Linked DNA regions of Homo sapiens: all the other regions are linked to region 1. The links are contacts of gene promoters, found by promoter capture Hi-C in blood cells and fetal thymus (Javierre and others, 2016). All regions are on one chromosome and are shown on one strand. The core of a region is centred on a gene start or on the middle of the fragment in contact, and the rest is flanking DNA. Distances in the headings are between cores, read along the strand shown. Region 1 holds the start of ITLN2 (intelectin 2). Region 2 overlaps CD244 (CD244 molecule). Region 3 has its middle 5.2 kb from the start of CD244. Region 4 holds the start of ITLN1 (intelectin 1).

Region 1 (3,068 bases), core at 417-2,916:
GGCTACAGGACAGGAAGGAAAGGGGAGAGTACACCCCAGGAAGAGAAGAAAGCACATGAGATGGCCTGAAGCAATAACAGAGCCCAGCCCAGCCCAGCCTGCCAAAAACTACAGGTCAGTCGCTTATTGTGGCTGGAACATATGTTGTAATACAAAGAAGTCTGGAAACCAAAGCTGAAAAATTAACAGAGGCCAGTGGATGAAGGGCCATGTATATAAGTCTAAAAGCCTAGAAATCATTCCAAAAGCCTGGCAGAGCGGGAAAAAGTGTAAAATTACAGGACTCAGGCCAGGCACAGTGGCTCATGCCGGTAATCCCAGCACTTTCGGAGGCCGAGGAGGGTGGATCACAAGATCAGGAGTTCAAGAACAGCCTGGTCAATATGGTGAAACCCCATCTCTACTAAAAATACAAAAATTAGCTGGGGTGTGGTGGTGCACACCTGTAATCCCAGCTACTGGGGAGGCTGAGGCAGGAGAAGCTCTTTAACCCAGGAGACGGAGGTTGCAGTGAGCCGACATCACGCCACCGCACTCCAACCTGGGCAACAGAGCAAGACTCCGTCTAAAAAAAAAAAAATTACAGGACTCAAGGTAAAATCCAGACAAACCCTGATGACAGTGCCTCCTTGAGCAGACACTTAACATCTCTGATCCTTTTTCTTCATCTTTAAGATGTCATTAATAACTTCTTTATACGCATGGAGATCAAATGAGATGACATATGTAAATGTGCTTTTTTTAACTGATGGATTGAAATAAACAATAAACCCAGTATCAATGAAAAAATATCACTATTGTGCCTACTGGAAGAATAGAATTGTGAGGATTCTATTCTCACAATATCCTCCTCTGCGACTAGAGGAGGGTGTACCCTGGACACAGCACTGATCACCCAGCTGCCTCTGGAGATCCCAAGGCCAAGGCCACAAGAGCAGCTGAGCAGGGACACAGTTCTTACTCTCTCACCCCATGAACCCCTCACAGCCACAGAAGCAGAGAATCAAGCCCTAGGAAATACCTGAGCTAACACCCTGACTGCTTCAGACCAGACCCCAGGAGAGGCCAGAAATCAGCACCCAGTCCACACCTCAAGTTGGCTGCCTAGCCTGGGTTCCCTGCCTCTCCAGAACTTCCCCTTTGACCCTTGACTTCAGAGCCCTGCCCAGCTCTACTCCCTCCAGGCCCTGCACAGCAGAGGGGAGCCCAGGAAACTGCAGCTCCTACTCTCAGAAGCCATTTACCTGCACTGCACCCACTGGTGGCCACAGAGAAGAATAACAGGAAGCAGAGTCTGGTCATTGTCCTCTAAGGAAAAACAAGATGCACAAGGTCACTGGCTGGCCCTTCCTTTGTCATCCTCTCGTTCTTACTTCCTAACCTTTCTGAGTCAGGAATCCTCAAATGGAAAGTGATGGGCTCATGAGCATTCTAAAACCTCCTGGAATATGCCCCACGGCTGTCCAACACTACAAATACCCAAGGGGCCATGGGCTCATTTCCCTGAAACTCTAAATCTCTAAAACTGAGACCTGAGCTGGCATCATTGCTCCCACACACATGGATCAAAAACATTTTTCTCACCAGCATGGACAGCATCCTTACAGATGCCAGGAGCTGATAGTTCCCTTCCTGTGGACACTCGGAGCTCCCCTGCAGAGGATCCTGATGAAGGGTGAAGTGCTGGTCCCTTTATGTGGAGAGCTGTGGAGAGCCAAACCACCTGAGCCCTGCCCAGCCCAACCCTGAGCAGCCTAGGCTGCTAGCCCCTCCCTCTGAAGCCCTTCCCTCTGAGGGTACCTGAGCCTGGGACCGTGGAAATGAGAAAGGACGTGCGACTGGCTGGAGGAGCAGGGAGCTGTGTTCCTGGCCACACAGGTGACTGTCGCCATCTGAGGAGGGGCATCCTGCTTTGCCAAGGCAGGCCATACAATGTAGCAGTATCTAATCAGATTCGTGGATAGGTCACAATCCTCCCCTGCGTTCTCCCTCTCCCACCTCCCCCAGATGCCCTGGCCCCCTAGACACAACTCTGTCAAGAAATCATCCTTTTAGACTGAGGTGACACCTCATGAAAAATAAATTAATTAATTAAGAATAATAATTGGCCAGGCACAGTGGCTCACACCTATAATCATAGCGCTTTGGGAGGCCGAGGTGGGCGGATTACCTGAGGTCAGGAGTTCAAGACCAGCCAACATGGTGCAACCCTGTCTCTACTAAAAATACAAAAATTTAGCTGGGTGCAGTGGCGTGCACCCGTAATCCCAGCTACTCTGGAGGCTGAGACAGGAGAACTGCTTGAACCCAGGAGGTGGAGGTTGCAGTGAGCCAAGACTGCTCCACTGCACTCCAGCCTGGGCAACAGAGCAAGACTTCACCTCAAAATAATAATAATAATAATAATAATAAATAAATGGGAAAAGAAGACATCATCCTTCCAATCTTTCCTCCAATTTCTCTATGAGGCCTTCCCTGACACCCCCATCACCAGACAAAGCTGATGGATCCTTCCTTTGTCCCACTATACACTGTCCAAACACTAATTATTGCATGTATCCTGCTGTAATTTTATTGTTTTATTAACTCTGTTTAGAAACAATTTGAAATTTATTAAATGTTGCAAAAATAACAATAATATAAAGCCACATATATGCCCTTTACCTAGATTCAACTATTGTTAATATTTCACCCCATTTGCTTTATCTTTCGTGTTCTCTCTCTCTCTCTCTATATATATATAGATATATGTATATAAAATACACCCACACACACAAAATTTTTTTCTGAACCATTTGAAGGTAAGGTACATACATCATGGGCTTTTACCTTTAAATAAATGCGTATGGGTTTTTTTTATTTTGTTTTGTTTTTTGACACAGAGCCTCACTCTGTCACCCAGGTTGGAGTGCAATGGCATGGTCTCAGCTTACTGCAACCCCCGCCTCCCAGGTTCAAGTGATTCTCCTGTCTCAGCCTCCCGAGTAACTGGGATTACAGGCACCCACCACCACGCCCAGCTAATTTTTGTATTTTTAGTAGATACGGGGTTTTGCCATCTTGGCCAG
Region 2 (3,068 bases), core at 304-2,803, 100 kb before region 1:
AGTATGGAATCATACCCTTTTCATCCAGTCACATTTCTACAAGGTTGTTGGTCATGCCTATGAAGTGAAGTCTCCATAAAAACCCAAGAGGACTGGGCTTGGAGAGCCTCCAGATAGCTGGAGATTCCTGGCATGCAGTGTGCCCAGGGAAGGCATGGAAGCTTCGTGTCCCTTCCCCCATACCTTGCCCTATGCCATCTCTTCATCTGTATCCTTTGTAATATCTCTTATAATAGACCAGCAAACATAAATGTTTCCCTGGTTTATGTGAGCCACTCCAGCAAATTAATTGAACCCAAGGAGGGGGTTGTGAGAACCCCAACTGGAAGCTGGTTGGTCCGAAGTTCTGGAGGCCCAGACTTAGAACTGGTGTGGTGGAGGGGTGGTGTTGGGGACTGAGCCCCCAGCCTCTGTGGTCTGACACTCTCTCCAGTTAGTGTCTGAACTGAATTGGAGAACACCCAGCTGGTGTCCACTGCAGAATACATTATTCAGTTTGCTGTGAGGAGAAATCCACCTCCCTGCATTTGGTCACAGAAGTCTTCTATGTTGATGATTGTTATTATTTTGATGTGGGAGCAGAGGAAAAACATGGTTGGAGAGGTTTGTTCAAAACAACAAACATTCACATTTGTACCCATCTCTTTCTTTTTTTTTTTTTTGTTTTACTTTAAGTTCTGGGATACGTATGCAGAACATGCAGATTTGTTACGTAGGTATACGTGTGCCATGGTGGTTTGCTGCACCTATCAACCCATCATCTAGGTTTTAAGCCCCACATGCATTAGGTATTTGTCCTAATGCCTCCCTCCCCTTGCCCCTCACCCACTAACAGGCCCTGGTGTGTGATATTCCCGTCCCTGTGCCCATATGTTCTCATTGTTCAACTCCCACTTTGAGTGAGAACACGTGGTGTTTGGTTTTCTGTTCCTGTGTTAGTTTGCTGAGAACGATGGCTTCCAGCTTCATCCATGTCCCTGCAAACTCAGGAACAGAAAAAGGATTCCATAATTACCTCTTTTAATCAACATTGTACTGGAGGTCATGGCTAGTTCAACAAAACAAGGAAAATAGTCAAAGGGAATAAAAATTAGAAATGAATATGTGAGGCTGGGCGCAGTGGCTCACGCCTGTAATCCCAGCACTTTGGGCAGCTCACCTGAGGTCAGGAGTTCGAGACCAGCCTGGCCAACACAGTGAAACTCCATCTCTACTAAAAATACAAAAATTAGCCAGGCGGGTGGCAGTCACCTGAAATCCCAGCTACTCGGGAGGCTGAGGCAGGAGAATCACTTGAACCCGGGAAGCGGAGGCTGCAGTGAGCCAAGATGGCACCATTGCACTCCAGCCTGGGCAACAAGAGCAAAACTCCATCTCAAAAAAAAAATGAATATGTGAAACTGTCATTATTCACAAACTATATACCTGTGTATATAGGAAACCAAGAGGACTATATGAAAAATTATTTGAGTGTAGAAGTCAGTTTTGCAAAATTGCTAGATATAAGGTCAATATACAAAAATCATTTTTATTTCTATATATTAGTACAAACAGATAAAAATGAAATTTTGAAAACAATACTATTTACAGCAGCACAAAAAAGATAAAATATATAGAAATAATTTCAAGAAGAAATATTTAAGACCTATACACCTATTGCAACAAAAGATTGCTGAGAAAAAATTAAAGAGCTAAATAAACAGGAGACTATACCATGGTTTTTATTGGAAGACTTAATATTGCTAAGATGTCAATTCTTCCTAAATTAATTTATAGATTCAATAGAATTCCAATAAAAATTATTGCAGGTTATTTTTATAGAAATTAACAAGTTGATTCTAAAACTTATATGAAAATGTAAAAGACATAGAATAGCCAAGGCAATCTTGATGAAGAACAAAGCTAGAAGGTTTTCACTACCTAATATCAAGATATATTGTAAAACTTCAGAAATTAAGATAGCATTCCAGTATTGCAAGGATTGAAAAGTAGTCGATGGAATATAATAGTCTAGAAATAGACCCTGTGTGTGGGAAAAACACTAACTGTTTTTCCTCTGGTTTCACACCACAACAATCAACACAGAAGACTTCTGTGACCAACGTGTGGGGAGTTTCCCACGTGCCAAGCAAGCAATCAGCTCTTCAGTGGACACCAACTGGATGTCCTCTAATTCAGTTCAATTCTGACACTATCTACCTGTAGATATCCACCAGATGCCAACTGCAAGCTCCAGATTGTTTTACCTGCGCTTCTGACCAACTAGCTATAAACTGGGTTTCCCGTTATTCCCTCCTTGGGTTCAATTAATTTGCTAGATGGCTCACAGAACTCAGGGAAACACATTCACTGGATTATTATAAAGGTTATTACAAAGGGTACCTATGAAGAGATGCATAGGACAAGGTGTAGGGGAAGGGATACAGAGTTTCCATGCCTTCCCAGGGCGTGCCACCCTCCAGGAACCTCCGCATGTTTAGCTCTCTGAACCTTGTTCTTTGGGTTTTTATGGAGGCCTCAATAAATGGGAATGATTGACCACTGGCCATCGGTGATCAACTTAACCTTCAATCCCTCTCCTTTTCCTGAAGGTTGGGGACGGGCTCAGAGTCCAATATTCCAACCCTGCCTTGGTCTTTCTGGTGACCGGCCCCTATCCCGAAGCTGCCTACAGGCTGCCAGCCATCGGTCACCTCATTAGCCTACAAAAAGACATCACTTCGGAATTTCTAAAAATTTTAGGAATTGTATGCCAGGAAAGGAGGTTGAAAACCAAATATATATTTCACAATATCACACAAACCAACACATACTTGATCTTTTCAATAAATGGTGCTTGGTCAAATTGATATCTATAAGGAAAAAAAACCTTGATATCTCCCTCATATCATATACAAAAATTAATTTAAAACAAATCATAAATTTAAATATGAAAGCTAAACCTATAAAGCTTCCAGGAAAAAGCACAAGAGAATATCTTCTACATCTTGAGATAGACAAATGTTTCCTTTTTTATTTTTACATTTTAATCTATTTTTATGTTTATTTTGAGACCAGATTATGAGACT
Region 3 (3,068 bases), core at 333-2,832, 87 kb before region 1:
GTTAAAGTTGTCAAAGATGAACCATTCACAAAGAGCCCAACTGATCTTATAGGTATAGTCAACCAATCTTGCAAGAATTCAATAAATAACTTCTGTAACACCAGACACTAAATGAGAACTCATTGCCTTTATTTCTAACCATCTGAATATTGTCTGTGTTCCTGTTTGAATGAAACCATAACGACACTTTTAATAAGCACAATCTCTTTTTCTGTCTCTTTTTCTCAGAAGGGCTAGAAAATCGCTTTCCCTTCTATGTACATTTATCTTCTGTGGGCTTTCACTTGTTGGAAGAGAAGTAGCCAGTTATTGTTTATTTATTGGCTGTGATAACTTTCAGGTTCAGGTTAAAGGTAAGAGATGCAACAGTCTCATAAAGAAGATGGAAGACAGAGCCTCTCAAAACAATTTATGGGACATCAGATAACGCAGAGAACCCACATCCACAGGAGCAAAGGCTAAAGAGTGCAATCCATGTCTTAACTCATCTCAGAATTCAACATAACAAGAAATTTGCCATTCCCAGATTCAGTGTGAGAAACAGCTCTGACGATGCAGAGAACCGCAGGCTATCTCTCTGACACTAGCAATGTGGTGTGGGAAATGGAATCAATCTCTGCTTCCCTGTGTTGGAACAAAATGTTTCTACGTGAAAAAGGTACAAAAAAGTTTTCCCAAATTGCAAGGGAAATGCACCATAGAATAGCCTCCTATTTAGCCTCCTATTTAAAGATAATTAAATATAAATTTGTCTTATACATTTGTATCTTTTATTACATTGTATAAATCAGAATCTGATTTAGTATGAAATTATATTCTGAGATTTTTATGTTTGACATATTAGTAGACCAAGTGTTTTGCAATTAAAAAAAAAAAAACATAATGACTTCTAAGTGCCCTACCATCTAGTTTGTGAATTTTATCTAGTTTGTGAATTACAAATACAGAAAATCAAAATTGGGGTTATAATGATAAAGTCATTTGTGCAAGCCAATGTTCTCTTTTAATTTTTCTGTGCTACGTTGACACCTAGAAAGAAATGAATGTGATCAAAGTTTAGTGGTGTAATCAGATAAACTTATGATATGGTTTGGCTGTGTCCCCACCAAAATCTCAACTTGAATTGTATCTCCCAGAATTCCCACGTGCTGTGGGAGGGACCCAGGGGGAGGTAACTGAATCATAGGGGAGGGTCTTTCCTGTGCTAGTCTCGTGATAGTGAATAAGACTCACGAGATCTGACAGGTTTATCAGGGTTTCCACTTTGCTCCTTCCTCATTTTCTCTTGCTGCCACCATGTAAGAAGTACCTTTCACCTCCCACCATGATTGTGAGGCCTCCCCGGCCATGTGGAACTGTAAGTCCAATTAAACTTCTTTTTCTTCCCAGTCTTGGGTCTGTCTTTATCAGCAGAGTGAAAACAGACCAATACAACTTACAACCAAATTGTTATTTTAGTGGTTTGAATATCCATAATTGACCATGAAATTGTTTTGACATGACAAAACTTTACTGTGGAGTATTTTATTCTACATCACATTGCTATTTTATTCTATTTCACATTGCTGTTTATCCCTCATGTAGAATCCTCATCAGTGCTGAGAGTTTCCCTGATTCTATGTGTCACTGAACCTACCACACAGGTTGCATGGGCCCACACATTCACATATGAGATTATAGAAGATGAAGAACCTAAAACTGGCTTCCTGTTCTCTAAGAGTTCCTCTTCTTCTTCCCCTATCCGTGTGCTAACTGACCTCCCTACATGATTTTCATGTGAAGCTCTCTGGGTTTTTCTGGCATACCCTCTCCTGCTAAGAAGTTGCCTCTGGCCAGGTGCGATGACTCACACCTGTAATCTTAACATTTTGGGCGGCTGAGTTCAAGAATTTAATGGGCAAAAATAAAGAAGTCTGGTAATACCAAGTATTTGAGGGCATATGGATCAATTGGATCAATTATATACAGCTGATGGGAATGTAAATTGGTACAATTCTGTGGAAATAAATTGGTGTTATCTTGTAAAGTAAAATATTTATAAACTCTAATGATCCAGCAATATGACATCTAGTTATATACCTACATATAAGAGACAGTTTAGCACATATATACCTGGAGACACATATGACAATGTGCATAACAGCATTGTTTTTTATTGGAAAAAAAACTGGAGACAAAACAAATGGCAATGGGAGAGTGGAAAAACAAGATGTGATCTATTCATACAATGTAAATTCAATAGCATCAAAAATGAATGTGGGACAGCACAGGAGAACAGTAGTTACATAATGTCATAGGAAAAAATAAGCACCAGAAGACAATATACAATATGATAGTATTTTTATATAGTTTAAAAACAAAAAATTAAACATATTATTTGGGCATCTGCATGATGTGTGTGCATGATTGTTAAAAAGTAGCTTAAGCAATAGGATCTTAACCACAAATTGAGATAATGGCAACAACTAAGGAAGAAGGGAGGGATGGAGTGACATAGAGGAACACAGAGGTAGGTGTAGATTAATAATAATATTCTAGTTGTTGGGTTGTGTCATGATAAGCGTCCATTGCATTGTGAAACAAAGGAAGGTGAGAGAGAGGTGGACGGGGGTAGAAGGAGAGTGAGAGAGGGAGCTGACCTAGCTGCCATGCGTCTCTGGCTGCTTGTTACAACCACAAAGAAAGACCACTAATACCACCTCATCATGAAACCTTTCAGGTAATCATTAGTGTTGTTCACTCTGATACAATTCTCCTCTTTTGGGGCAGGGTGGGGACATGGAAGGCTGCACTTCTCTTTGGAGTTAAACAGGACCATGTGTCTTGCTCTGGCCAAGCAATGTAAGCAGAAAGTGTCACTGTCAGGCTGAAGCCTTTAGGAGAAGCAAGACACCAGTCAACACACTCCTTTCTCCAGCTTCAGTAAATACCTAAAACACGTAGCATTGGCTTGGTAATAGGCCTACTGATGATGAAGAAATTAATATTGAAGGTTGGAAAGATGGCACTCCATGTTATGTAAGAAGTGAAAATGTTAAGAGTGTTGCCTGTGGCCACTCAAGAAGTGT
Region 4 (3,068 bases), core at 380-2,879, 70 kb before region 1:
TCATTCCCGGTTTGACACAAAACCTACCCTCTCCTATCACTAGTCCCACGCTCATTCCACCACTGTAGCAGAACCTCGCTGCCCGGGTGGTAAGGCCTGAGACAGCCAGTGTCATATCCACTCAGCCCATCAGTGTCACATCCACTCAGCCCATCGGCATCATATCCACTCAGCCCATCCGACCTGACAGCCAGCACAGGCTTAAAGTCTGCCTCCCGCCACAAGACCTGTCCTTGTGCTGGGTCCTGCCCTAAGCACTGAGTAATCAAAGACATTAAAGTTCCCCAGCAAGAGCTTGCCTCTAGAGGGAATTGCTAACAAGTCAACAGAAAATTGTATTGACAAGAATAAATGGTAGAAGAAAGGCAAACTCAAGAGAACAAAAGAAAGACTCTGAGGTAACAGTGGAGAATGGAAACGCCAGACAGTAAGCGGGGCAGTTGCCTGGGAGAAGAAGGCAAGACGGGTTGTCTCATGTCTTAGTCACAGAAGACCTTCCAGTCCAGGTGACATCTTAGCTTATTCTGAGAGAATAAACATGATTTATCAGTAGGAAGCCAATCCAAGGCAGGGAAAACAGCATATCCAAAGGCCTAGAGAAAAAAAAAAAAATACAGCGTAGTCCAGCTGTAGAACTACAAGCTGCTTAATATGGCTGAAACATGGGGTGTGAAGTAGGGAGTGGTGAGACTAATCTCTACTCCAAAAAGTCTGCAAACTATTCGAACAGTCTAGGGGAAAGCTGTGAGGTCAGAGGTGACTGACCTCAGTTTCCTCATACCTAAAACACAGTTAATAAACAGTGCTTTTGCAAAGATGAAGTAAGAAGATATTTCGAAACAGCCTTTTCTTTAAAAAAAAAATTTTTAGACGTGAAGAAAAATATAAATTTTAAAATGTCATTGTTATTCTTGTTGTAGAGAGGAAAACTGTGGAGAGAACATTCTCCAGGCACAAAGCAGACCATGTAGTTCCCATGGAAATCCCACAGCCAAGGCCACAGGAGTGGGCAGTGGCTGGAAGGTGACACAGTTCTTGCCACAGCCCCCTCAGGGCCACACAAAAGCACAGAGCCTGGACCCAGGACATGCCTCAAGCAATACCTTCACTGCCACAGGCCAGATTCCGCCAGAGACCAGAAATCGGCACTCAGTCTACATGCAAGCCAGCCGCTGTGCATCTCAAGGACATGCTCTGTGTCCTGGGAGAGACCAGGATCCCGGAAGTCATCCAGCTGAAGGAACTGCTGTCCCTAGCAGCGTGACTCACCTGTACTCCATCCTCTGGTGGTCGCTATGAGAAACAGCAGGAAGCTGAGTTGGTTCATTGTAATCTAAAGAAAGCAAGATGAAGGTCACCATCTTGGCCATCATTTTTCTCTACATCCCTGCCCCACCCCTGTCCAGTCTTACAAAGACTCCAAAACCCCTTGCCTTTTGTTTAAACTTCACACATCTCTGAGACCAAAAGCAGACCTAAGCTGAAAACAGGATTCCCCCAACTCACAGACCTTGTCTGAGTCTCAGCTGCACTTTCCTTGGGTACAGAGAGCTCCTTCACTCCCTCCCTCCACTGCGCCCTGGAGCTCAACAGAGTGCAGCTTTCTCCAAAAACGCTCCTGATGTGGAATGAGGTGCAGAAAGCTTTATGGAGGAAGCCCAGTGGGGCCAACCAAGGTTTCCAGCCTCACCCTCCCCTGGCACAATGCCCAGTGCAGGGGAGGCTTCTGGTTATCTCGGGGAGGTTATTTATACAGTGGAATTAACAGGTTCTAAAGAAAAAACCAATCCTAAGAATCACCTGCTAGCGTTGTTCCTGGATCTGGGGGTTTCATGGACCTGTGTCAAGTAGGAAGTAGACGAAGAGATTAACAAGAGTTGGTGTTGGTTTTGGGTTTTTGTGCCTTTCTTTCTTGCAAAATAAAAACTTTCTCTAAATTAAGCATCTGTTGGCTTGGCACATTGGCTCAAATCCCAATACTTTGGGAGGCCAAGGCAGAAGGATCACTTGAACTCAGGAGTTTGAGACCAGCCTGGGCAACATAGGGCAACCTCTTCTCTACTAAAAATAAAAGTAAAAAAATTAGCATGGCATGGTGGTACTTGCCTATAGTTTCAGGTGGGGCTGAGGCAAGGCAAAAGGGTAACTTAAGTCCCAGAGATAGAGGATTCAGTGAAATATGACCGTGCCACTGTACTTCAGCTTAGGTATCTCAAAATAAATAAATAAATGAAATTAATCATTGGCCATAATTATCAATTCATAGAAATAGAAAAAGGAAATTTTAACAAAATGGGAAAGTGATCATTTCTGAATAAATTGGTAAAAAGGAATGGAGGGGAAAGAGATACAAAACACACAAAAAAATACGAATAGAAAAGTTTTAAAAAATATATAAATCTTTAGTTTGAATAATTTAGTTTCACACAAAGACTCACTACTTTGTCTTTAATTTTGTCATTTTGCCACAAACGAGGGAAAATTTACTACAGGATTCATTTGAAACTGAATCAATACGAAACCTCTCTGCTGCTTCGAACCTCCTGTCTTATTCCTGCTCCTATGTCATGAAGTTCTCAAATGCTACCCTGCAGCTGTAATAGAATTACTCAGTTCTTCCCCAGTGATATCATACATTTAATACATAATGTCATTATAGCATTAATAATACTGCAACCTTTTCTTACAAAGATTGTGAATATCTTTTTTGTTAAGCTAATATTTCCTATTTGTTGGTTCAAAGTACTGATTTGCAAAAAATACTCACATATTGATAGAAGAAAATAAAATAGCACCCAAGAAGAAAAACTGCAAAAAAAAGTTATACTTTTGTAAATTTAAAATCTATTAGAAGCTATTTGCTCTGTGTATCTGGAAAATAATTAATTAAATAAAATTAAATGTATTAGAAACTAAATTAACTCATCAGTATAGGTAACAAAATGAACATACCCAGCTTTCATATTTACAAACAACAACCTCTTAGAAATAGAGGTCTCAGCCAGGCGCTGCGGCTTACACCTGTAATCCCAGCACTTTGAGGGGACGAGGGTGGCCAATCACTTGAG

What was found. The method cuts DNA at HindIII sites, captures the fragments that hold promoters and counts their contacts. A CHiCAGO score of 5 or more calls a contact.
Region 2: a fragment that was not itself captured here is called in contact with the fragment with the promoter of ITLN2 in region 1 in 6 of 17 cell types (M0 macrophages, M2 macrophages, M1 macrophages and 3 more); the score reaches 9.3 in M0 macrophages.
Region 3: a fragment that was not itself captured here is called in contact with the fragment with the promoter of ITLN2 in region 1 in 2 of 17 cell types (M2 macrophages and M0 macrophages); the score reaches 6.3 in M2 macrophages.
Region 4: a contact is called between the fragment with the promoter of ITLN1 here and the fragment with the promoter of ITLN2 in region 1, in 2 of 17 cell types (M2 macrophages and M0 macrophages). The highest score is 5.6, in M2 macrophages.

What each region holds. Positions count from the first base shown.
Region 1 is chr1:160,953,143-160,956,210 of GRCh38, forward strand. ITLN2 (intelectin 2) reads right to left here and starts at 1,667. Exons shown (of 8, transcript NM_080878.3): 1 at 1,585-1,667; 2 at 1,245-1,308. The coding sequence starts at 1,599. The HindIII fragment of the contact is 24,751 bases long and covers 1-3,068 here.
Region 2 is chr1:160,848,636-160,851,703 of GRCh38, forward strand. The region is part of intron 1 of CD244 (CD244 molecule); the gene reads right to left. Among named protein-coding and RNA genes, the nearest start is that of CD244, 13 kb to the right of the region's middle. The HindIII fragment of the contact is 2,789 bases long and covers 160-2,948 here.
Region 3 is chr1:160,866,571-160,869,638 of GRCh38, forward strand. No RefSeq gene overlaps it. Among named protein-coding and RNA genes, the nearest start is that of CD244, 5.2 kb to the left of the region's middle. The HindIII fragment of the contact is 3,347 bases long and covers 1-3,068 here.
Region 4 is chr1:160,883,551-160,886,618 of GRCh38, forward strand. ITLN1 (intelectin 1) reads right to left here and starts at 1,630. Exons shown (of 8, transcript NM_017625.3): 1 at 1,511-1,630; 2 at 1,270-1,333. The coding sequence starts at 1,327. The HindIII fragment of the contact is 4,692 bases long and covers 1-1,641 here.